Linked DNA regions of Homo sapiens: regions 1, 2 and 3 are each linked to region 4. Evidence: promoter capture Hi-C in 16 types of primary human blood cells and fetal thymus (Javierre and others, 2016). All regions are on one chromosome and are shown on one strand. The core of a region is centred on a gene start or on the middle of the fragment in contact, and the rest is flanking DNA. Distances in the headings are between cores, read along the strand shown.

Region 1 (5,681 bases), core at 3,182-5,681, 660 kb after region 4:
GATCACCTGAGGTTGGGAGTTTGAGACTAGCCTGACCAACATGGAGAAACCCCATCTCTACTTAAAATACAAAAAATTAGCCAGGTGTGGTGGCACATGCCTGTAATCACAGCTACTCAGGAGGGTGAGGCAGGAGAATTGCTTGAACCTGGGAGGTGGAGGTTGTGGTGAGCCAAGATCATGCCATTGCACTCCAGCCTGGGCAACAAAAGCGAAACTCTGTCTCAAAAAATAAAATAAAATAAAATAAACCAGCTCTGGCCAGGCACAGTGGCTCAGACCTGTAATCCTAGCACTTTGGGAGGCTGAGGTGGGCAGATCACCTGAGGTTAGGAGTTCAAGACCAGCCTGGCCAACATGTGAAACCTTGTCTCTACTAAAAATACAAAAAAGTAGCCGGGCGTAGTGGCGGGCGCCTGTAGTCCCAGCTACTTGGGAGGCTGAGGCAGGAGAATGGCGTGAACCCGGGAGGTGGAGCTTGCAGTGAGCCGAGGTCCCGCCACTGCACTCCAGCCTGGGCGACAGAGCGAGACTCCATCTCAAAAAAAAAAAAAAAAAAAAAAAAATAATAATAATAATAATAATAATAATTGCCCTCTCAGAGTGGTTTTGTAACTACTACTACTACCATTTACTATCCATTAAAGCAGGATAGTTTTAATTCCACAGAAAAGCCAATAAGCAGAAATGTGTCACGCTCCCTTTGTTTCTCTTAAGATTTCTGACCCTACCAGCCCTGAAGGAGATTACCTCAAAGTAAGAACTTGACACATTCGAGGCCAGGCACGGTGGCTCACGCCTGTAATCCCAGCACTTTGGGAGGCTGAGGCGGGTGGATCACGAGGTCAGGAGATCGAGACCATCCTGGCTAACATGGTGAAACCCTGTGTCTACTGAAAATACAAAAAATTAGCTGGGTGTGGTGGCGGGTGCCTATAGTCCCAGCTACTCGGGAGGCTGAGGCAGGAGAATGGCTTGAACCTGGGAGGCAGAGCTTGCAGTGAGTGGAGATCGTGCCACTGCACTCTAGCCTGGGCAACAGAGAGAGACTCCGTCTCAAAAAAAAAGAAAAAAAAGAACTTGACATGTTCAAGAAAATTATGACTACAGGGAAGATTCTGCAGTAAATGCTAGTGGAATGGGACAGGAAAAAGATGAGACCCAGATCAAGCACTTCCTCTTGAGAAATACAGATACCTCTTTCAGGTGTAAATTGCAGGCATTCTGCTAGCCATTCAATGTCTTTGATATCTCAGGCCCGTCAAGGACCAATCTTTTGTTTTTTGAGACAGAGTCTCACTCTGTTGCCCAGGCTGGAGTGCAGTGGCACGATCTTGGCTCACTGCAACCTCCACCTCCCGGGTTCAAGCCTCTACACCCAGCTATAGGAGTGCGCCACCACACCCAACTAATTTTTGTATTTTTAGTAGAGACAGGATTTCATCATGTTGGCCCGGCTGATCTCCAACTCCTGACCTCAGGTGATCTGCCAGCCTCAGCCTCCCAAAGTGCTGGGATTACAGGCATGAGCCACCGCACCTGACCAAGGACTAATCTTGATGCTTAATTAGCACCACTCCACTTGGTCCCTTTATCCACATCAGGCACAATAAACCAAGAGGGGCTGTTATAAACACTTATTCAATGGGCTGAATTGGACCTGTAACACTAAACAGCAGCCTAGACCTTCACTGTGGAAACAGAAATAACTAATGCCAATTTCTTTTCAACTTGGACACTGACTTGAAGCTCAAATGCTAATTTCTGCGAAAAAACACAACCAAAGAAAGTAACTCTCAGCTCATGACCAATCTAAATTTAAGTTATTTATTTAAGCCATCTCCTGCCACAAGCAAAGGGATGGGAGACCAGTATACCAGTCATCATTTGATACAAGTAAAGAAGGTGAGCTTAAGGTCCCATATACTTTTTCTGGTCCATGTGCAGAGTAACGGTCCAAACCAGTGCTGTGGTCCCTGGTGCCCGGGTAGTGGTCCAGATTCTCTTTATTCATCTTCGTAGCCAGTTGGAAGTGGATTCACATGAGGGTTATGGAATAGAGTATGGTTACCATCTCCCCAGGGAAACGGCTGTGGAGTGAAGATGTCAGTTAGATAATTCCAGAAAATAATTTAGAAAGAACACCGTCATGAACTGCTTATAACGGGGTGACAGATCATATATAAAAACAAAATGGAAATTAGTCCTTTATCTACTGGTGTAGTTCAACCTTCCCATTATTTAAGGAGCTCTTATAACTACCAGGGGAGCCCTTAAAGTTATCCTGGCTACAGGACAGTTTTAATTCCAGAAACAAATATGGATGGCAGAAAATGCAAGCTCAAGTTAGTTACTCATCATCCTCTCCCTAGTAACTAGTATATCCAGTGCTGTGTTTATGAAAGTGTAATCCTCAAATCACCTATATCAAAATGGTGGCAGTATTAGGGGAGGGAGATGCTTAATTAAATGCAGATTTCTGGCACCATCCCAGACTTCAAACAATATCTGGGCTGGGAAACTGCAGCCCACCCTGAATTATCTTGCCTATTACCTTTGAAAAGCATTACTTTAGGGCAACGGTCTCCAACCCAGGGTGATTTTGCCCCTTCAGGGCACACTGGGTAGTATCGGGAGACACTGTGATGGGGGCGGGGGAGGGGGAAGCGGGAGTGGGGTTGCGCAGGTACTACTGCCACCTAGTGGGTACAGGCCAAGGATATGGCTAAACATTTCACAATGCACAAGATAGCCCCCCAACAAGAATTACCCAGCCCCAAATGTCAACAGTGCTGAGGCTGAGAAACCTTTACTGTTTGGCTTCTAATTGCATTGTACAAGGATGGGAGTGCCGCTCAAAGACTCAACAAATTCAAGAGTCTAGGTTAAGTTTCTACAAGGCCAGTCCTATATGGGCTAGGTGATGTAATAATAATAATAATAATAATAACTTTTTTCATCACTTCTCGGCCTTTTGGCTAAGATCAAGTATATTATTACTATTTTTTTTTGAGACGGAGTTTCACTCCTGTTGCCCAGGCTGCAGTGCAATGGCTGGATCTTGGCTCACTGCAACCTCCTCCTCCTGGGTTCAACCTCCTAGATTCTCCCACCGCAGCCTCCCGAGTAGCTGGGATTACAGGCGCCCGCCACCACGCCCGGCTACTTTTTGTACTTTTAGTAGAGATAGTGTTTCGCCATGTTGACGAGGCTGGTCTTGAACTCCTGACCTCCGGCGATCCACCCACCTTGGCCTCCCAAAGTGCTGGGATTACAGGCGTGAGCCACCGCGCATGGCCAGTATTGAAGAATCAGAATAAGCCCTTGTTAAAGATACAGCAAACAACAGAGGACACAACATTGTAATATATCTACATCAACAACCAATGATAAAACAGTCGAGAAAAGGTATTGGTGGGGAATAGAGAAAGCTGTCAGTCTCTTCATTATGCAACTAGTAGCTGCCAGATGCCCATGTTTTGTTGTTGCTGTTTTGTTTTGTTTTGAGACCAGAGTCTCGCTCTGTTGCCCAGGCCGGAGTGCAGTGGCACGATCTCAGCTCCCTGCAAACTCCGCCTCCTAGGTTCAAGGGATTCTCCTGCTTCAGCCTCCCATGTAGCTGCTGGGTTCGCTTACGCGAACCACCTTCAGACTTTGCCACTCTAATTGGATTTCCCAAACCTCCAGGCTTTACACAACGGACACCTGTTTCAGAACTGTCTCAGAAGTAAAAAAAAAAAAAAAAAAAAAAAAAAGAACTGTCTCAGAAGGCAGGAGGTAGGATGAATCGGAGAAAAGGGAAACTGAAGAGCACTTATTGTATGACCTTGAAGAAGAGAATTGAGACGTAATCCCAAGTGTCAGCTGTCCATCCACAAAATGGAAGAAAATACATTTTCTGTTTGTGAGGATAAACAAGCTGTACACGCCTGGCACCCATGCCTTCAGAGAATGAAGAACTTGCACTAAGGCACACATAACGAAAAGAGAACGGACGCTTGAAGAGATGTACAAGGGCGTACCTTGGTCCTGATGCGGAGATGGGGGTAGGCGATGAACTCGGGTCTCTCGTGCTCTCCGTGGTGCGACTTCAGGTACACATTCAGCATGCTGACTGCCACCCCGGGGAGCGCGACGAAGAAGGTGAGAGTCTTCCACATGCGAGCTGCGGAGAAGCCACAAACGTTCAGCGCCGGTATGGGGCGGGCCCGGGTCTCACTTTCCCTCCCGCAAGGCCTCGGGCCAAGGTCACAGTCCCTCCCTGTCTCGCCCGAGTGGGGCTGAGGCTCGACCCGTCGACCCCGGCCCCAGTACCTGAGCCCTCTTCGCCATGGGCGCCACTCGACATAGGCCGCCCCAGCTGTGGGCGGGACCGACCCAGCAGCCGAGAAACCGAGGACACACCAACTACCGCCATTTTTGATCTGGACTGCCGCAGCGCCGGAAGCGGAAGTGGAAAATTGGCTCTGGGGGCGGTACTACAACCTCCAAAGGAAGTTACTATTGGGCGCCGCCCTCCCACTGGCATTAACCTGAGCACTATCATCCGGGACGACGGAGTCCTTGTCAAAATCCTCGGCATCTCGGGCAAGAGAGAGCATGCGCTCTGCACCTCCCTTCAGGCTTTACCGTTTCCTTCGTGCGCATGCGTGTGCCCTCCGGTCTCCCTACCGTCCCCACCTGGGCGAGGCGGAAGCTCAAGAGAGGTTTGTGCAGGGTGCCCTGGTACCTGGAATCGCTCCCTTCGTTGGAGTCCATGGACGGGCATCTGGAGGTTCTGATCCCAGACCGCCCTATCTAAAATTCCGTTCCCCTTCCTCGCCATCCTCCGACTGCGTTTTCTCATAGCACATAACATTGCACCTTCGTCGTTATATTATTATTTTGTCTGTCTCCCCCACTAGAATATAAAGTCTGTGATACCAAGAGTTTGGCACTGCAGCATTCTCAGAATAATCTGGGAATGGTGTAATTTGGAATCATACCTGGCACATACCAGATACTTGATATAAATTTGCTGAATGAATGGATGAATGAATGAATAGCAACAGAAAGTATAAAGAGCACTGAAATTGGTGCCAGCAGACCTGGATCCTAATCCTGACTCAACAGTCTCATCTTTTTTTTTTTTTTTTTTTTTTTTTTTTTTGAGACGGAGTTTGACTCTTGTTGCTTAGGCTGGAGTGCAGCGGTGCAATCTTGGCTCACTGCAACCTCTGCATCCCAGGTTCAAGCAGTTCTACTGCCTCAGCCTCCTGAATAGCTGGGATTACAGGCACGCACCACCATGCCTGGCTAATTTTTTTTTTTGTACTTTGGTAGAGACAGGGTTTCACCATATTGGCCAGGATGGTCTCCATCTCCTGACCTTGTGATCCGCCTTCCTCGGCCTCCCAAAGTGCTGGGATTACAGGCGTGAGCCACTGTGCCCGGCCTTTTTTTTTTTTTTTTTTTTTTTTTTCAATAGGCCCCTTTGAGAATGTAATGAGGACCAGCGTGGTGGCTCATGGCTGTAATCCCAACACTTTGAGAGGCCGAGGCGGACAGATTGCTTGAGCTTGAGAGTTTGAGACCAGCCTGGGCAACAAAGCTTTTTTCTTTATTAGAAAAAAAAAGAATCTAATGAAAGCTTTGAACCCTTTCCTCTAAAGACACACCTATGTGTAAACACACAGTATAGC
Region 2 (5,555 bases), core at 2,733-5,232, 510 kb after region 4:
GTGGGTGGATCACGAGGTCAGGAGATGGAGAGCATCCTGGCTAACACGGTAAAACCCTGTCTCTACTAAAAATATAAAAAATTAGCCAGGCGAGGTGGCACGTGCCCGTAGTCCCAGCTACTGGGGAGGCTGAGCCAGAAGAATCGCTTGAACCCGGGAGGCAGAGGTTGCAGTGAGCTGAGATCGCGCCACTGCACTCCAGCCTAGGCGGCAGAGGGAGACTCCATCTCAAAAAAAAAAAAAAAAAAAAAAAAAGGAATCTGAGAAGTCCCAGGACGACTGTAATAATGCTAACAGTAATGACAACAGTGACCACCCCATTGATCCAGGGGATACCTGACTCGGCTAAGGGCACAGGCTGGGGTCAGACAGACGTGGATTGGGCTCTATTGTGCACCTGGGTGAGTTGTGATGTCGCACCTGGGTGAGCTCACCTCTCAGAGCCTCATCGGCTTCCTCACCTGGGGAGGATAATGGCTCTGCGGCCCGGCTGGGGAGAGAACCGAGGAGGGGTTGGGGTGTGAGCCCCCGCCGCTGCCCCTTCGCGGCCGGCATTCCGGCGGCGGGCACGGCCGGGGCACACCCCGTCGCCGTCCAGCGGATCTCCGGGCCCCGGGGAAGACGGCCGCTCCTCCTCCATGCCTCCGCGGGCGGATTCCCCCGCAGCCTCCCGCGCCGCGCAGCGGGGACCCGGGTGATTGCAAACAGCCGCCGGCCTCATTAGGAGACTTATAATTAGCGGCTGGCGCAGCCCGAGCCGGCGCGCGCTAATTACCGCGGGGAGCCCGCCCGCCCGGCCACCGCCGGCGTCTGCACCCTCCTGGGCCAGAAGGGGCCGGGCCTGGTCCAAGACTGGGAGGCCGCGGGCCGTGCCAATGTGCTTCCTCCCGGGGCTGTGCCTGTGGGGGAAAAGTAAATCATTTGTTCAGAACAGCGTTTACTTGCCGAGGGCGGTGGCACACGCCTGTAATCCCAACACTTTGGGAGGCCGAGGCGGGCGGATCACTTGAAGTCAGGAGTTTGAGACCAGCCTGTCCAACATGGTGAAATCTCTACTAAAAATACAAAATTAGCCGGGCGTCGTGGCAGGCGCCTTAATCCCAGCTACTCTGGAGGCTGAGGCAGGAGAATTGCTTGAACCCGGGAGGCAGAGGCTGCAGTGAGCCGACATGGCGTCACTGCACTCCAGCCTGGGCGACAGAGCAAAAAACTGTCTCAAAAAATTCCTGTTGTTTGGCTATATTTTCTTTTTTCTTTTCTTGTTTTTAAGACAGTCTTAAAAATCAGTCTCAAAAAACAAACAAAACAAAAAAAACAAAAACAAAAAAAGGGCTTACTATGCACTCGCTGTGCCAGGCATTTTGTCCACATGACCCCGCTTAAACTTCATATCCACCCACGAGGGAGGAACCATTGTTATCCCATTGCACAGATGAGGAAACTAAGATCTGAGACATGAATTAACCCTCCTGACAGCACCTGGCCGGGCCAGTAAATGACGGAGTAGCGAATCGAACCTCCATCTGTCGTCTCTCCATCTTATTACACTAAATGGACGAGTGAAATCCTGCACGGGAGAGCACCAACCGTGTTGACCAGAACAAGGAGTCAGCTGGCTTTGGGTTCGAATTCTGATCCTGCTCCTAACTGGATACGAGGCTTTGGTCTGAGCCCCAACTGCATCTATAAAATGGGCGAAGCATTGCTGTTGAAATGAAGGCTGGGAGGAGTGAAATTTCTATGAGGGGTGGAGCGCTCAGGAGTTGGGGGTGTCTTGCTCTCTCCGCGCACTGCGGACCTCTGGCGCCCCCTGTTGGCCAAAGGAGGATGTCGCAGACACTTTCTGGTGAAAAGTTGTTCTTGGGTGGGGAGTGCCGTCACTGTCACTGGTCCCTTGGCAGGGCCACGGCGTTCCCTCTTCCTATTCTTTTCTTCCCTACCTTCCCCCACATCCCTCCTTTAAGGTGGCCAAGAAGAGTGGGAGATGGGAAAATTCAGAACTCATTCCAGATCTTGCAAAAATAGGTTGTGAAAGCTGCCCCCATTACGGACCTCACAGGACCAGCCAAGGCCAAGACACTTCTACAAATAATCAGGGATGGGCATAAAGACTAAGCTACAAAGCCATGCATCAAAGTATTGGGTATAACAAGAAAATCTAGAAATAATGTAAACGTCTACCAAAGGGATACTGACCAACTTCACAATGGTACGTCCAAACAATGCAATACTGCACAGCTAAAAAACAGTATTGTCGCTGAAGAGCTGACATGAAAATATAGCCAAATGGCCAGGCGTGGTAGCTCACGCCTGTAATCCCAGCACTTTGGGAGGCCGAGGTGGGTGGATCACCTGAGGTCAGGAGTTCAAGACCAGCCTGGCCAACATGGGGAAACCCTGTCCCTACTAAAAATACAAAAATTAGCCAGTTGTGGTGGCACACACCTGTAGTCCCAGCTACTTGGGAGGCTGAGGCAGGAGAATCGCCTGAATCCAGGAGGCAGAGGTTGCAGTGAGCTGAGATCGTGCTCCAGCTTGGGCAACAGAGTGAGACTCCGTCTCAAAAAACTAAATAAATAAATACAAAAATTAGCTGGTCGTGGTGGCAGGTGCCTGTAATCCCAGCTACTCGGGAGGCTGAGGCAGGAGAATCGCTTGAACTCAGGAGGCAGAGGTTGCAGCCAGCCTCCTGGCTGCATTTATATAAAGTTTAAGAACAGGCAAAATTAATCTAGCAGGGTAGAAGTGGTAATAGTGGCTGATAGCAGTAAGCAATTTGACTGGAAGAGGGCTCAGGGAACCTTCTGGGATACTGGAAATGCTCTTTATTTTAATCTTGGAGGTGGTTATAGAAGTCTATCCATATGTAAAAATTCATTGAGATGAATACACTTAAGAATATGTACTTTATGTAATACCCCATAAGACATTTTTTTTAAAATACTTAAAAATAAAAGAAAAAACATAATTTAACAGAGGGCATAGTTCTCAAGCTGTTTTCTCTGTCTCAGGACCCCTTTACACACGTTACTGAGGGTGCCCAAGAGCTTTTAGTTTTGTGGGTTATATTTACTATGGACATTAAAGTTGAGAAACGTTTAAAAAACAATACACAATTCCTAGAGCAGTGACGTCATCACGTCAAGCAGCCTCTGGAAAACTTGACTGTTCACTCAGAGAGAATGAAAAAGACAAGTAACATCTTAGCATTATTATGAAAGTAATTTTGACTTCGGGGACTCCCAAATCGAGTGAATTTAGGAAATCTCAGTGGTCCCCAGACGGCACTTTGAGAACCACTGGCGCAGGGAGAAAATGACAGAAGAAAACACACTACACGACAACAGTTATTCTCTCTCAGTGCTGGGATTATAATTTATTTGCTTCTTTGTGCTTTTCTGTCAAAAAAAAAAGGTAAACGGAAATGGAAAATACAATGACCACGTATTGTTTCTGCGAGCAAAAAACGAGACGGCACACTCGCCTCCCTAAGATTGCTGAAAGGCCCAAACAGCAATAGCATATTTAGCTGTATGGAAGAATTAAACTGAGCTCAAACCTGAAAATAAAAGTCCGATTTCCCGTTTGTCAATGCCTGGGCTGTGAGGTGCAGGGTCTTGCCCTCAAAAGCTCCACCGTTCACCTTGGGGAGAGAATATACTCGCATACATAACTGTGGTGCAAGGTTCCCAGGGCCCCAAGGGTAGCGGCTACATCCTACACACTATTGTAAACTTCAGTGTGCAACAGAACCATCCATTACAGCTGCAAGGCGCTCCATCCCGGGGTTCAGCCCTCAAACTAGTCAGTGACCCTCCGCAGGACGCATGCGCGCTTACAAACGCAGTTGGGCGGGGCTTGAGAGAGCTGACAGACTTCGGCCTCTCAACTTTCTAGCTCCGCCCTAATATCCTGTCTCCTTCTCTGAATGGCTGAAAGGCTGCGGAAGCAAGCTTCCCATTGGCAGCGGACAGAATTCACATCCGGTTTGCACGCCGGACCGGAGAGCGCGGAGGCAGCCATGGTGCGGTTCAAGCACAGGTAAGCATTCCCTTCCAGACCCTCCCAGTGCCTTGCTGGGTCCTCGCGGCCCCGCTAGTGTCCACCTTCCTCTCGCCTGCCGCAGGTACCTGCTCTGCGAACTGGTGTCTGACGACCCCCGCTGCCGCCTAAGCCTCGATGACCGAGTTCTGAGCAGCCTCGTACGGGACACGATCGCCAGGGTGCACGGAACTTTCGGCGCAGCCGCCTGCTCCATCGGCTTCGCGGGTGCAAGGGCGCTGGGGGAAGAGGGGAACCCGGGAGGATGGCGGGATGTGGAGGGGGCAGGCGCCGGAGGAAGAAAGAAGGGGCACGAGTGGCCAAGCCCGTGCACCGTTTTTTGTAAGGTATCTCTTTAAGCGCCTGGGACCCCAAGCGAGAGTCCGAAATTAGCAGAGCGCTAAAAGGAGGGGCCCGAAGGCAGTGGGGCTTTGAGCTAGAAGCCTCTTTTTACCTGCTTGACAGGTAATTTCTGTAATTGGTTGTGATTGAATTTGATAGGGTAGAGAATTAAATGAGGGAAGCTGTGTATACTTCCTAGTAAGAGCTATTATATGACCGATTACATTAACATCATATGGAAAAAAATTGTCAAAAGTACTCCGGGAAAGCCCTTAAATAGTTGGTAAAGTACAGAACACATGATTGTCAATATATGTAAATACAGGATGAGCTAGGACAGAGGGGCCCTTCTTTCACACCACTTAAATTAGTTCCCACTTTAACCTTGTTTGAGATTGACTTCTGGAGAGTTAAATGCAGATAGACTTAACTCTCCTAAGTCAGGTGAGACTGAGAGCTGACTGCTACAATAATTACGGAGCCCAAATGCAGTAAAACAGCCTGTTTTTCAGGCAAGGGTTTTGTGGGGGTTTTTCCTAAATTAAAACGGATCGCCTCCTACCTGCTCCTATTTATTGAATTAACTAGTGAATTAGAAAGCATTTTCAATTCTAAATTCATTCACCAGTTCTGAGTGGTGTGCAACACAGTGGGTGTTTTGGCTTTTCTCTTTTACTCGCTGATAGATCTACGTGCCACTTGCCTACAACATACTTTTGGCACATAGTAGGCTCTGTTACTCCAAAGTTTTCCTTTTTTCGAGACAGTCTGGCTGTTGCCCAGGCTGCTGGAGTGCAGCAGCGAGATCGGGGGTCATTGCTGCCTCTGCCTCCTGGGTTCAGGCGATTCTCATGCCTCAGCCTCCTGAGTGGCTGGAATTACAGGTGCGCACCACCACACCCAGCTAATTTTTGTATTTTTAGTAGAGACGGGGTTTCATCATGTTGGCCAGGCTGGCCTCGAACTCCTGACTTAAAGTGATCTGCCCGCCTCAGCCTCCCAAAGTGCTGGGATTACAGGCGTGAGCCACCACACAGAGCAAAAGTTTTCCAAAATGATTTTTCTTTCCTGTTGTAGTTCGATATCTCAATGCCTATACTGGAATAGTGCTACTTCGATGCAGAAAAGAATTCTATCAGCTTGTGTGGTCAGCTCTTCCCTTCATCACATAC
Region 3 (5,163 bases), core at 1,805-4,304, 790 kb after region 4:
GGAGGCTGGGGTGAAAGGATCACTTGAGCCCAAGAGATTGAGGCTGAAGTGAGCTATAATCACACCACCACATCCCAGTCTGTGTGACAGAGTGAAAGCCTGTCATACACACACACACACACACACACACACGTGCACACACAAACACAAAAGAAAATAAAAGAAAATCACCCTAGCTTGCTCAACTTTCTTTTTTTTTTTTCTTTTTGAGACGGAGTTTTGCTCTGTTGCCCAGGCTGGGGTGTGGTGGCATGATCTCAGCTCATGATCTCAGCTCACTGCAACCTCTACCTCCCAGGTTCAAGCGATTCTCCTGCCTCAGCCTCCTGAGTAGCTGGAATTACAGGTGCGTGCCACCACTTCCAACAGATTTTTGTATTTTTAGTAGAGACGGGGTTTCACCATGTTGACCAGATTGGTCTTGAACTCCTGACCTCAGGTAATCTGCCTGCCTTGGCCTCCCAAAGTGCTGGGATTACAGGCGTGAGCCACCACACCCGGCCTCAACTTTCTTTAAAAAAAAAAAAAAAAAAAAAAAATATATATATATATATATATATATATATATATAAAATTTACTTTACTTATATAGAGACAGAGTCTCACTGTGTTTGCCAGGTTGGTCCTGAACTGTTAGCCTCAAGCAATCTTCCTGCCTCAGCCTTCCAAAGTGCTAGGATTACAGGTATGAGCCACTGTGCACCATCCTCAACTTTTTTTTTTCTTTTTTTCTTTTTTTTTGCACTGTTGCCCAGGCTGGAGTGTAGTGGTGCAATCTCGGCTCACTGCAGCAACCTCTGCCTCCCAAGAGATTTTCCTGCCTCAGCCTCCCAAGCAGCTGGGATTACAGGCATGTGCCACCACGACTGGCTAATTTTTGTATTTTTAGTAGAAATGGGGTTTCACCATGTTGGCCAGGCTGGTCTCGAACTCCTGAGCTCATGTGATCTGCCCACCTCAGCCTCCCAAAATGCTGGGATTACAGGCGTGAGCCACTGCGCCCGGCCCCAGTCCTCAAGTTTCATTGAGACAATCCTCAGGCATGTCCTAGACAGTTGGAGGGTCCCTCACAGGACTGAACCCCAGTGCCCAAGGCAGTAACCCACTCATTAACACACACTTTCTTGGCTTTCCTCTCTTTCCTGTTTTACATCCTTGCTCCGTCAATGAATTTACTGGAATCAACTGCAAAATAAACAACTTGCTCTGAAATCCTTTTCTCAAGGTCTAAGACTGTGGTGATCAAGACAGCCAAGGTCCCTACTCTCCCAAAACAACACACGGGTTTGCGTTCAAACCGTGTACAGCTCCTGCACCTGTCCATGCATCCGTGGAGCTCTGTCAGGCGCCGACTCCCCGCCTTGGTGTGCAAAGCATCCACATTTTGGGTCACCAACCAGTACAGCTTTCCGAGTTTCTCCCAGGTGCTCAAAGCCCAGTGTGCAGGGTTAGGCTGGTGGGAGGAGAATTGAGGCCAGCCTACGAAGTTTCTCGCCCAGTACCGCTGGCGGATTGGGGCACTCCGGACAAAATCACCATGCTGGATGGGCCTGCGGTCAGTGCGGGCATAAAGCCCCACTTTTTCTGACCTGTAGTCTGGTATCCCCGATTCGGTGGAGATTCCTGCCCCAGTCATCACAAGGAGTCTCTTGGAAAGGGTGATGAAGCGCTGTAACTCTTTGACCTTCTCAGGGTCCAGAGGAGGACTTGCTGGCACAAATAACCCAATGGAGGCTTTCGAGCACGGCTGGCTGGGGTTTGCGATCCAACGGCCTTTTGCTGACCTGAAAGTCAACGCAAAGCTCATCTTCATTCTAGAGAAAAAGAAGCCTCATGTGAGAAACTGGGGTGGTTTTTTTTTTTTCTCATTTTTTGTTTGTTTGTTTTCGTTTTGTTTTTTGAGACAGAGTCTCCCTCTGTTGCCCAGGCTAGAGTACAGTGGCATGATCTTGGCTCACTGTAACCGCCGCCTCCCGGGTTCAAGTGATTCTCCTGCCTCAGCCTCCAGAATAGCTGGGACTACATGGCCACCATGCCCGGCTAATTATTGTATTTTTAGTAGAGGCAGGGTTTCACCATGTTGGCCAGGCTAGTCTCGAACTCCTGAGCTCTAGTGATCTGCCCGCCTCGGCCTCCCAACGTGCTGGAATTACAGGTGTGAGCCTCTGAGTCTGGCCCTAATGAGTCAGGTTTTGTTTGATTTTGTTCATGTAATTAAGCACACACACGCATTCCTTTTATTTTTTCATTTCCCCCTTATTTTAGTTTACCCTCCACTGCAAGCTCTGCTACTTGGACACATCAGAGAGACAAGACCCCTGCCCGTCAGCTTTTCTAGCTGTAACAATAGAGGGCCGGGTGCGGTGGCTCACGTCTGAAATCCCAGCACTTTGGGAGGCCGACGCAGGCAGATCACTTGAGATCAGGAGTTCGAGACATGCCTGGCCAACATGGTGAAACCCCGACTCTACTAAAAATACAAAAAAAATTAGCCGGGCATTGTGGCACGTGCCCGTAATCCCAGCTACTAGGGAGGCTGAGGCAGGAGAATTGCTTGAACCCGGGAGGCGGAGGTTGCAGTGAGCCGAGATCGCGCCGTTGCACTCCAGCCTGGGCGAAGAAGCAAGACTCCGTATCAAAAAAAAAAAAAAAAAGAAAAAGAAAAAACTTTGACATATTATTTGACACAATGCAATGCATAAATCCTCTAGTGACATGCACCCCGTATGTAAACATTATTTTATGTTTGGCTTTCCAGATCTGAGATCAGGACCCCGCTTTCTCCTTGACATTCCACAGCAAAACGTGAACAGCTGAACAAACACACAGTCCGGTTTCCCGAGACCAAAGGGTCAGGGGAAACCCCCGCTGAAAACGTGCATCAGTGGAACAACTACTCTCTTCCAGGTCCCACCGAGGGCAAAGAGGAGAAATAGAATCCCTCACAAGAAATCCACAACTTCTAGAAATCCGCAGCACACACAGAACACACTTACCTCTCACAGCTCTACGGACACTTCACACCCCACAGTGGGACCGTCTGATTGCATTTGCATTTTGGGACATGTAGTCCAGAAAGCTTAAATGATGCGAGAAAAACCACAAGTCCCACAATCCTCCGCGTCTCGCAATTGACAGCCCCAGATCATCCAGGAACGCCCCCTGTCGGCTCTTTCTGGTCAGAGGTTCCCCCGTTAATATAAAAGCTTTTAATCATGGATTTTTTTCTTTGTTTTCAATTTCTGTGGGCACTTAGTAGGTGTATATATTTATAGTGTACATAAGATTTTTTTTCTTTTTTCTTTTTTTTTTTTAAGACGGAGTTGTTGTTTTTTTTTTTTGAAAAAACTCCAGTCTGGAGTGCAGTGGCACGATCTCGGCTCACTGCAACCTCCCTCTCCCGGGTTCAACCGATTCTCCTGCCTCAGCCTCCCGAGTAGCTGGGATTATTTTTGTATTTTTAGTAGAGACGGGGGTTTCGCCATGTTGGCCAGGCTCGTCTTGAACTCCTAACCTCAGGTGATCCGCACGCCTTGACCTCCCAAAGTGCTGGGATTATAGGCGTGAGCCACTGCGCCCGGCCATCTTTTCTCTTATTTTTTGTCTTTTTTTCTTTTCTCTGTGCCTGTCTATGCTTTACCCACATGAGATGTTTTGATACAAACATGCAATGTGAAATGAGCACGTCATTAATCATGGATCTAGATTTGACTTTTTTTTAAAGTTTTTGTATTTTTAGTAGAGACAGAGTTTCACCATGTTGGCCAGGCTGGTCTCGAACTCCCGACCTCAGGTGATCCGCCAACCTCGGCCCCCCAAAATGCTGGGATTACAGGCCTGAGCCACTGTTCCCGGCCTAGATTTGACTCATTCTAAACATCAGAGTTTGTGATCCTTTTCATTCACAACGACAGTATCAAGTTATTTGCTATTGGTAAAATACCTTGAACTTGTGAAGAAATGTGTTTATACATATCTGAAAAAGTGATAGTTTGTTGTTGTTGTTGTTGTTGTTTGTTTGTTTGTTTTTGAGACGGAGTCTCGCTCTGTTGCCCAGGCTGGAGTGCAATGGTGCCATTTCGGCTCACTGCAACCTCCGCCTCCCGGGTTCAAGCAATTCTCCTGCCTCAGCCTCCTGAGTAGCAGGGATTATGGGCGCATGCCACTACGCCCGGTTAATTTTTTTATTTTTAGTAGAGACAAGGTTTCACCATGTTAGCCAGGATGGTCTTGATCTCCTGACCTCGTGATCTGCCCACCCTAGCCTCCCAAAGTACTGGGATTACAGGCGTAAGCCACTGTGCCCAGCCAAAAGTGATGTTTTTACAGTTAATATGAAGCCAAATATATTATACCTGGACTAATGTACTTAACCTGCTTGGCTTCTCCAATTTTATTTATCATATTTTTTTTATTAAGTTAATCAAACAAGGCCTGCGTCTCACTCCCAGGGATTCTGATCTACAAATTTCCTAATTGTTCCTAATGTGTAGACAACCAGAACTGCCGCTCTGCAGCATCACCTAAATCAATAAATGTATAAGTGTCTTTGGACATAAAGGTGGGCGGCCAGCAGGGACCTTGAAGACCACCTAAGGACTCCCTTCCCCCATTTTAAGATGAATTGGGCTGAGTGCAGTGGTTCCCACCTGTAATACCAACACTTTGGGAGGCCAAGGCAGGAGGATCACTTGAGCCCAAAAGTTCAAGACCAGCTTGGGCAACATAGTGAGACCCACTCACTACAAAAAATAAACAAAATTAGCGGGGTGTGGTGGTGTGTGCCTGTAGTCCCAGCTACTCAAGAGGCTCAGGTGGGAGGATCACTTTGAGCCCAGGAGATCGAGGCTGCAGTGAGCCATAATTGTGCGACTGCACTTCAGCCTGGGTGACAAAGTGAGATCCCATCTCTTCAAAAAATAATAATAATAAATAAAGATGAACTGAAGTGCAGAGAAGTAATGTGGAAGCTTGAGAAAGAGTTTTTAGGTTTTTGGTTCTATCATTGTATCTTTGGAGGTAATATTGGCAAAATGACCATTTAGTAGTTTGCCCATTTCTGCTTTTTTTTTTTCTTTTTTTTGAGACAGGGTCTCGTTCTGTCACCCAGGCTGGAGTGCAGTTGTGACATCACAGCTCACTGCAGTTTCTACTTCCCAGGCC
Region 4 (5,833 bases), core at 2,737-5,236:
AGTACAATGTTAGCTATGGGTTTGTCATACATGGCTTTCATTTTTTTTGAGCTATGTTATTTCTATAACCATTTTGATGAGGGTTTTTAATATGCTAAACTTTACAAAATTATTTTCCAGCATTTATTGAAATAATCATATGGTTTTTGTTTTTGCTTCTGTTTAGGTTATGTATCATGTTTATTGATCTGCATGTGTTGAACCATCCTTGCATTCCTGGGATGAATCCCACTTGATCATGAAGCAGGATAGGTAGTCAAAGAAGTAACCATGTTCTCAGGATGCAGTAACTGTGGTGACTATACAGTCAACACAATAAGCCTCAGTATTTGCATTGTAATTGAGCTCATTCAAGCAAAGCTATCTTCAGTAGGGACTTTCCCCTCTGGAGAGCATGAACAGTTTGATTTTACCTGTCCTCAAACTGACCCTTTGCTCATTATAATAGTAAAAAAAACCACCCCTGGGTGGAGATTTAAGATGCGAATGAGACATGCAATGTATGAACAATCATGTACAGCTACTGTGCATGGGCAAGAGGACCACCCAGAAGATGCTTACTACCAACACCTCTTCCAACCCTTTATGAATAATCGTGTAAGACTTCCATAAAGAGAGTCTTCCTAGTGCCAGTTTTTGCTGTCTCGCCCTTATGAGCAACAAAATTCTCTCTCCCAGGGTATATTATCTATTTTGCACCAAACTTTCAAAATATTATTATTATTTGAGATGTAGTTTCGCTCTTGTTGCCCAGGCTGGAGTGCAATGGCACGATCTTGGCTCACCGCAACCTCTGCCTCCTGGGTTCAAGTGATTCTCCTGCCTCAGCCTCCTGAGTGCCACCATGCCCAGCTAATTTTGTATTTTTAGTAGAGATGGGGTTTCTCCATGTTGGTCAGGCTGGTCTCAAACTCCCAACCTCAGGTGATCTGCCTACCTCGGCCTCCCAAAGTGCTGGGATTACAGGTGTGAGCCACTGCACCTAGCCCAAAATAGTCTTTTTCTTTTGCAATAAATTACTCTATGTTGCATCTCCTTTGCTGTGAGTCTGTTTAAATTTTCTTAAACTAAGAAGACAAGAACTGAGGTCTTGCATCAGCCATCAACAATCATGGTGAATGGTCTTTTTGATGTGCTGTTAGATTCAGTTTGCTAGTATCTTGTTGAGGATTTTGGCTCTATGTTCATCGGGAATATTGGCCTGTAGTTTTCTTTTTTTTGTTGTTGTGTTCTTGTCTGGTTTGGGTATCAGGGTAATGGTGGCCTTGTAAAGTGAGTTTGGAAGTGTTCCCTCCTCTTTAGTTTTTTGGAAGAGTTTGAGTAGGATTGGTAATGGTTCTTCTTTAAATGTGTAGTAGAGTTCAGTAGTAAGCAAAACAGCATGTGCCTTCGGCTCCTGGAGCAGAGGATCCCTGTCTCTCAGTGCACGCACCATGCCTGGCATGGAACTGGCCTCGGACTCCACTTGCAGCCTTAATAACTCCATTCTTTGGATTTTGCTGTCTTATATTTGCCTTTCGTAGAAGGCTGAGAAGTAAAAAAGAAAAATACCACTGGACTCACCTTCATGAACTAGTTTCAAAAACTTTCTGCTCACAGAGTAAAAACACTTCATATTTAGATCAAGGAAATGAATTAAACCTAATCAGTTTAAAATCACCCTCACTAGACCACACTTTTTTCTTTTGAGATGGAGTCTCTGTCGCCCAAGCTGGAGTGCAGTGGCGCGATCACTGCAACCTTCACCTCCCAGGCTCAAGCTATTCTCCCGCCTCAGCCTCCAGAGTAGTTGGGACTACAGGCGTACACCACCACAATCTATTTTTGTATTTTTAATAGAGATGGAGTTTCACCATGTTGGCCATGCCGGTCTCAAACTCCTGACCTCAGGTGATCCACCCACCTCAGCCTCCCAAAGTGTTGGGATTACAGGCCTGAGCCACTGCACCCGGCCTACAACAACTGCTTTGAAAGGGCTTTTTCTCTATGATTAGGAAGATCCATGTTTAGAAGCTTGGTAAATAAATCCAAAACCTCTTCCCAGACAATGAATTGACCCTTCGATGTCCTATGTTTTTTTTTTTTTTTTACCTTTGCTAGTCACTGTATCAAAAGTAAAAAATATTTTTATAATCTTACTATTTTTCTTACATCACAACTTACATAAAATGAGATGCACTTCTTTTTAAAAAGTTTTCAAAAGCATTTTGTTGTGGTTTTAGATGATTAATAGGTGATCAGTTTGAAGAGTGAGAATGAAAAAACCAGCACATGTGGGGGAAGGCTGGGGAAGGGATTTGATTATATATTTAAGTGACTGAATTCAGTTCTCTCTCATTTCCTGGACAATAGTTCTGTTTTTTTCAGATTATTCTGATCATTTCAAATTAAAGCGAAGACACATGATCAGTTCTCAAGTCCTATGTTCTCATTAGGAAAAATAGAAAAACATGCAACTCTAGCTGAATATGGTGGAAAATATTTTGTTAGAGGTCCTTTCATAGGGCCTTTGTCCAGATGTTTGGACCGAGGCCCCCGAGGGCATGGAGAGCCAGCCTGAAGGACAGCGTAGGGTGTGCCTGCAGGGAAGGTCGTAGCTCACCAGTGACAGAAGAGGCAGACTCCCCTTCTTCCAGGCCTTGGTCTTCTACATCCTAGCTCAGTGGTCATTTATTTGTCAGGCCCTTCATTTTACTGATTTAATAACGTGTTTAAGGCAGGGTGCGGTGGCTCACGCCTGTAATCCCAGCACTTTGGGAGGCCGAGGTGGGTGGATCATCTGAGGTCAGGAGTTCGAGACCAGCCTGACCAACATGGAGAAACCCATCTCTACTAAAAAAAAAAAAAAAAAAAAAAAATACCCCGACGTGGTGGCGCATGCCTGTAATCCCAGCTACTTGGGAGGCTGAGGCAAGAGAATAACTTGAACCCATGAGGTGGAGGTTGCAGTGAGCTGAGATCATGCCATTGCACTCGAGCCTGGGCAACAAGAGTGAAATTCCGACTCAATAATAATAATAATAATAATAATAATAATAACAACAATAATAATAATGTGTTTAAATAATTTATCTCATATCTCTGCACCTTCACTCCATTTCTTTTCAAAGAAACAGAGAAAAACAAAAACAAAATGTCATAGTTCTGGGCCGGGCACGGTGGCTCACACCTGTAATCCCAGCACTTCGGAAGGCTGAGGTGGGTGGGTCATTTGAGGTCAGGAGTTTGAGACCAGCCTGGCCAACACGGTGAAACTCCACCTCTACTAAAAATGCAAAAATTAGCCGTGCGTGGTGGTGGGCATCTGTAGTTCCAGCTGCTTGGGAGGCTGAGGCAGGAGAATCGCTGAGGGAGCCCGGGAGGTGGAGGTTGCAGTGAGCTGAGATTGTGCCACTGCACTCCAGCCTGGGCAACAGAGCAAGACTCTGTCTAAAAAAAAAAAAATAAAAGTCACAGTTCTACTTGACCCAGCAGCAGGCTTTAAAACCAGAGGCTTTAATTCTCCCAATTTCCTCATTTGTCAAAATGCAGAAGCCAATCTAAGTAAATCACCTAGAACGGCAGCAAGCTACGTAAGTTCGGGGCTGAAATGTGATATTTCTTCTGAATCTCTCTTTTCTTACAACATCAGAGAAATGGGTAATAAATAGCACCAAACCCAGGGGCTCCACATTTATTCCTCTTTCCGGAGGAAATAAATTCTAGCCACCATATTTCTCAATAGGAACCGATATGTAAGGAGAATGAATTTATTCATTCATGAGTCATGTATTCAATCCTGATAAAAATACTTTATTCTGGTCTTCAATAGCAAATATGACCGGAGAGCCAGAGGGTCAGTGGTCCTGCTCTGAGCTGTGCAGGTGGGGCTGTCTCTGGGTAGTGGGAGGGTCGGGTGGGTGTTTCTGACCTGGGCGTCTTTGCCCAGAGGAGCAGAAGTGAACACACGCCCTCCCACTGGGCTCTTCTGCTGACGTGGGTTGGTAGGACGGTTATGGCTCAGCTTAGGGTCCGCAGCTGGGCAATGAGGAGACTGGAGGGGCCTTTCTCAGGTAGTGGCGTCTGGTAATCAGCAGATGGCGCCCGAGGTCGCTGGGCCCGCCCCGCGTGCGGGTCTTTCTGGTTGACTCCCCAGGCTCTTGCGTGGGAACTCACCACTGAGCACTGAACGCAGTTCCTCAGTCCGAGACCTCCTCACTCTCGCAGGACGCACAGTTGCACACACAAGTCCCTCACCTGTCACGACCCACGCTCTTACATACTCTCCCACTCCCACCCACACCCCCTCTCTCAGATGTGTGATCCAGGATTTCCTCTCCACCCACAGCCGCAGACGCCCCCACGGTTCGTGCAAATGTGCACACTCGGTGCAGCAGATCCCCGCCTCCTGCACACGTGCGCGTTTTTCCAGCCTCGCACTTTATCTCACACGTTTTCTCACCCAGAGACCCCATTTCAGACACACACACCCTCTCAGCCTTTTCTCTTGCCTCCCAACCCCTTAAAACGGAAATCCTTTATTTCCTCCGGAATTTGCTCACTTCGTGAAATGCCGGTCTGTCTTCTGGCGGATCCTATAGGGCAGCCCTTTCCTGCCCCTTGGTTCCAACAGCCCCTTTCATGCCAGTTTTTGTCACGTGCCTCTTACCATGCTGAAGTGAAATTGACCCAGCCATCACACAATGCCCTAACTCAGGGGTCTGCAAACAATGGCCCCAGAAAGCTGTTTGTTTTCCCCCAGCTTTATCTGAATATGCTTGAAAAGTAAACATTGTATATATTTAAAGTGGGCAACCGGATATTTAATACACATTGTGAAATGATCACCGCAAACTAAAACACCCACCATCTTACATTGTTACCACTTTCTTTCTTTTTTGGAGGTGGGGTGGTTAAGGATCTTAAGATCTACTCTCTTAAGAAATTTCAGGTATACAACAGAGTGTTGTTACACGCTGTACGTTACATCTCCAGAACTTACTCATCTTGTATAACTGACACTTTATACCCATTAAACAACACCCCGTTTTCTCCAACCCTCAGTCCCTGGCAACGACTATTCTACTCTACTCTCTGCTTCTATGAGTTTGGTTAGTTTAGATTCCACATATAAGTGAGATCATGCAGTATTTATTTATTTATTTATTTATTTATTTTTCTTGATGTGGAGTCTCGCTCTGTCGCCCAGGCTGGAGTGCAGTGGTGCCATCTTGGCTCACTGCGACCTCTGCCTCCTGGGTTCAAGCGATTCTGCCTCAGCCTCCCGAGTAGCTGGGACTACAGGCGTGCACCACCACAATCTATTTTTGTATCTTTAATAGAGATGGAGTTTCACCATGTTGGCCATGCTGGTCTCAAACTCCTGACCTCAGGTGATCCACCTGCCTCAGCCTCCTGAAGTGTTGGGATTACAGGCGTGAGCCACTGTACCAGGCTGAGATCATGCAGTATTAGTCTTTCTGTGCTTACTTATCTCACTTAGCATAGCAGGTTCATCCAGGCTGTTGGAAATGGCAGGATTTCCTTCTTTTTTGGAGCTGAATAATATTCCATTGCGTAGACACGTTTCCCTCACCCATTCATCTGTGGATGGATGTTATTTTCCATAATGGCTGTACAAGTTTACATTTTTACTAACAGTGTACAGTGATCCCTTTCCCCCACATCCTCAATAACAGTTGTTATCTTTCCTCTTTTGGATAATAGCCATTCTAACAGGTGTGAGGTGATGTCTCATTGAGGTTTTGATTTGCATTTCCCTGATGATTAGTGCTGTTGAGCACTTTTTCATACACCCGTTGGGCATTTATATGTCTTCTTTTGATAAATATCT

The links. Contacts are between HindIII fragments. The CHiCAGO score rates a contact against its expected background, and 5 or more counts as called.
Region 1: a contact is called between the fragment with the promoter of COX6A1 here and a fragment that was not itself captured in region 4, in 1 of 17 cell types (total B cells). The highest score is 6.4, in total B cells.
Region 2: the fragment with the promoter of POP5 here is called in contact with a fragment that was not itself captured in region 4 in 11 of 17 cell types (total B cells, naive B cells, naive CD4 T cells and 8 more); the score reaches 17.2 in total B cells.
Region 3: the fragment with the promoter of SIRT4 here is called in contact with a fragment that was not itself captured in region 4 in 1 of 17 cell types (total B cells); the score reaches 6.6 in total B cells.

Annotation. Positions count from the first base shown.
Region 1 is chr12:120,436,863-120,442,543 of GRCh38, reverse strand. It overlaps COX6A1 (cytochrome c oxidase subunit 6A1), which reads right to left and starts at 4,431. Exons shown (of 3, transcript NM_004373.4): 1 at 4,315-4,431; 2 at 4,023-4,165; 3 at 1,814-2,090. The coding sequence starts at 4,417. The coding sequence ends at 2,007. It also overlaps the pseudogene LOC124903126. RefSeq lists enhancers at 3,737-4,258, 4,185-4,394. The HindIII fragment of the contact is 8,043 bases long and covers 1-5,592 here.
Region 2 is chr12:120,579,829-120,585,383 of GRCh38, reverse strand. It overlaps POP5 (POP5 ribonuclease P/MRP subunit), which reads left to right and starts at 3,982. Exons shown (of 5, transcript NM_015918.4): 1 at 3,982-4,041; 2 at 4,127-4,269; 3 at 5,461-5,555. The coding sequence starts at 4,022. RefSeq lists silencers at 450-519, 550-919. The HindIII fragment of the contact is 2,825 bases long and covers 3,956-5,555 here.
Region 3 is chr12:120,300,212-120,305,374 of GRCh38, reverse strand. It overlaps SIRT4 (sirtuin 4), which reads right to left and starts at 3,054. Exons shown (of 4, transcript NM_012240.3): 1 at 2,997-3,054; 2 at 1,317-1,814. The coding sequence starts at 1,813. The HindIII fragment of the contact is 5,713 bases long and covers 1-3,081 here.
Region 4 is chr12:121,094,368-121,100,200 of GRCh38, reverse strand. No RefSeq gene overlaps it. Among named protein-coding and RNA genes, the nearest start is that of P2RX7, 36 kb to the left of the region's middle. The HindIII fragment of the contact is 3,941 bases long and covers 2,016-5,833 here.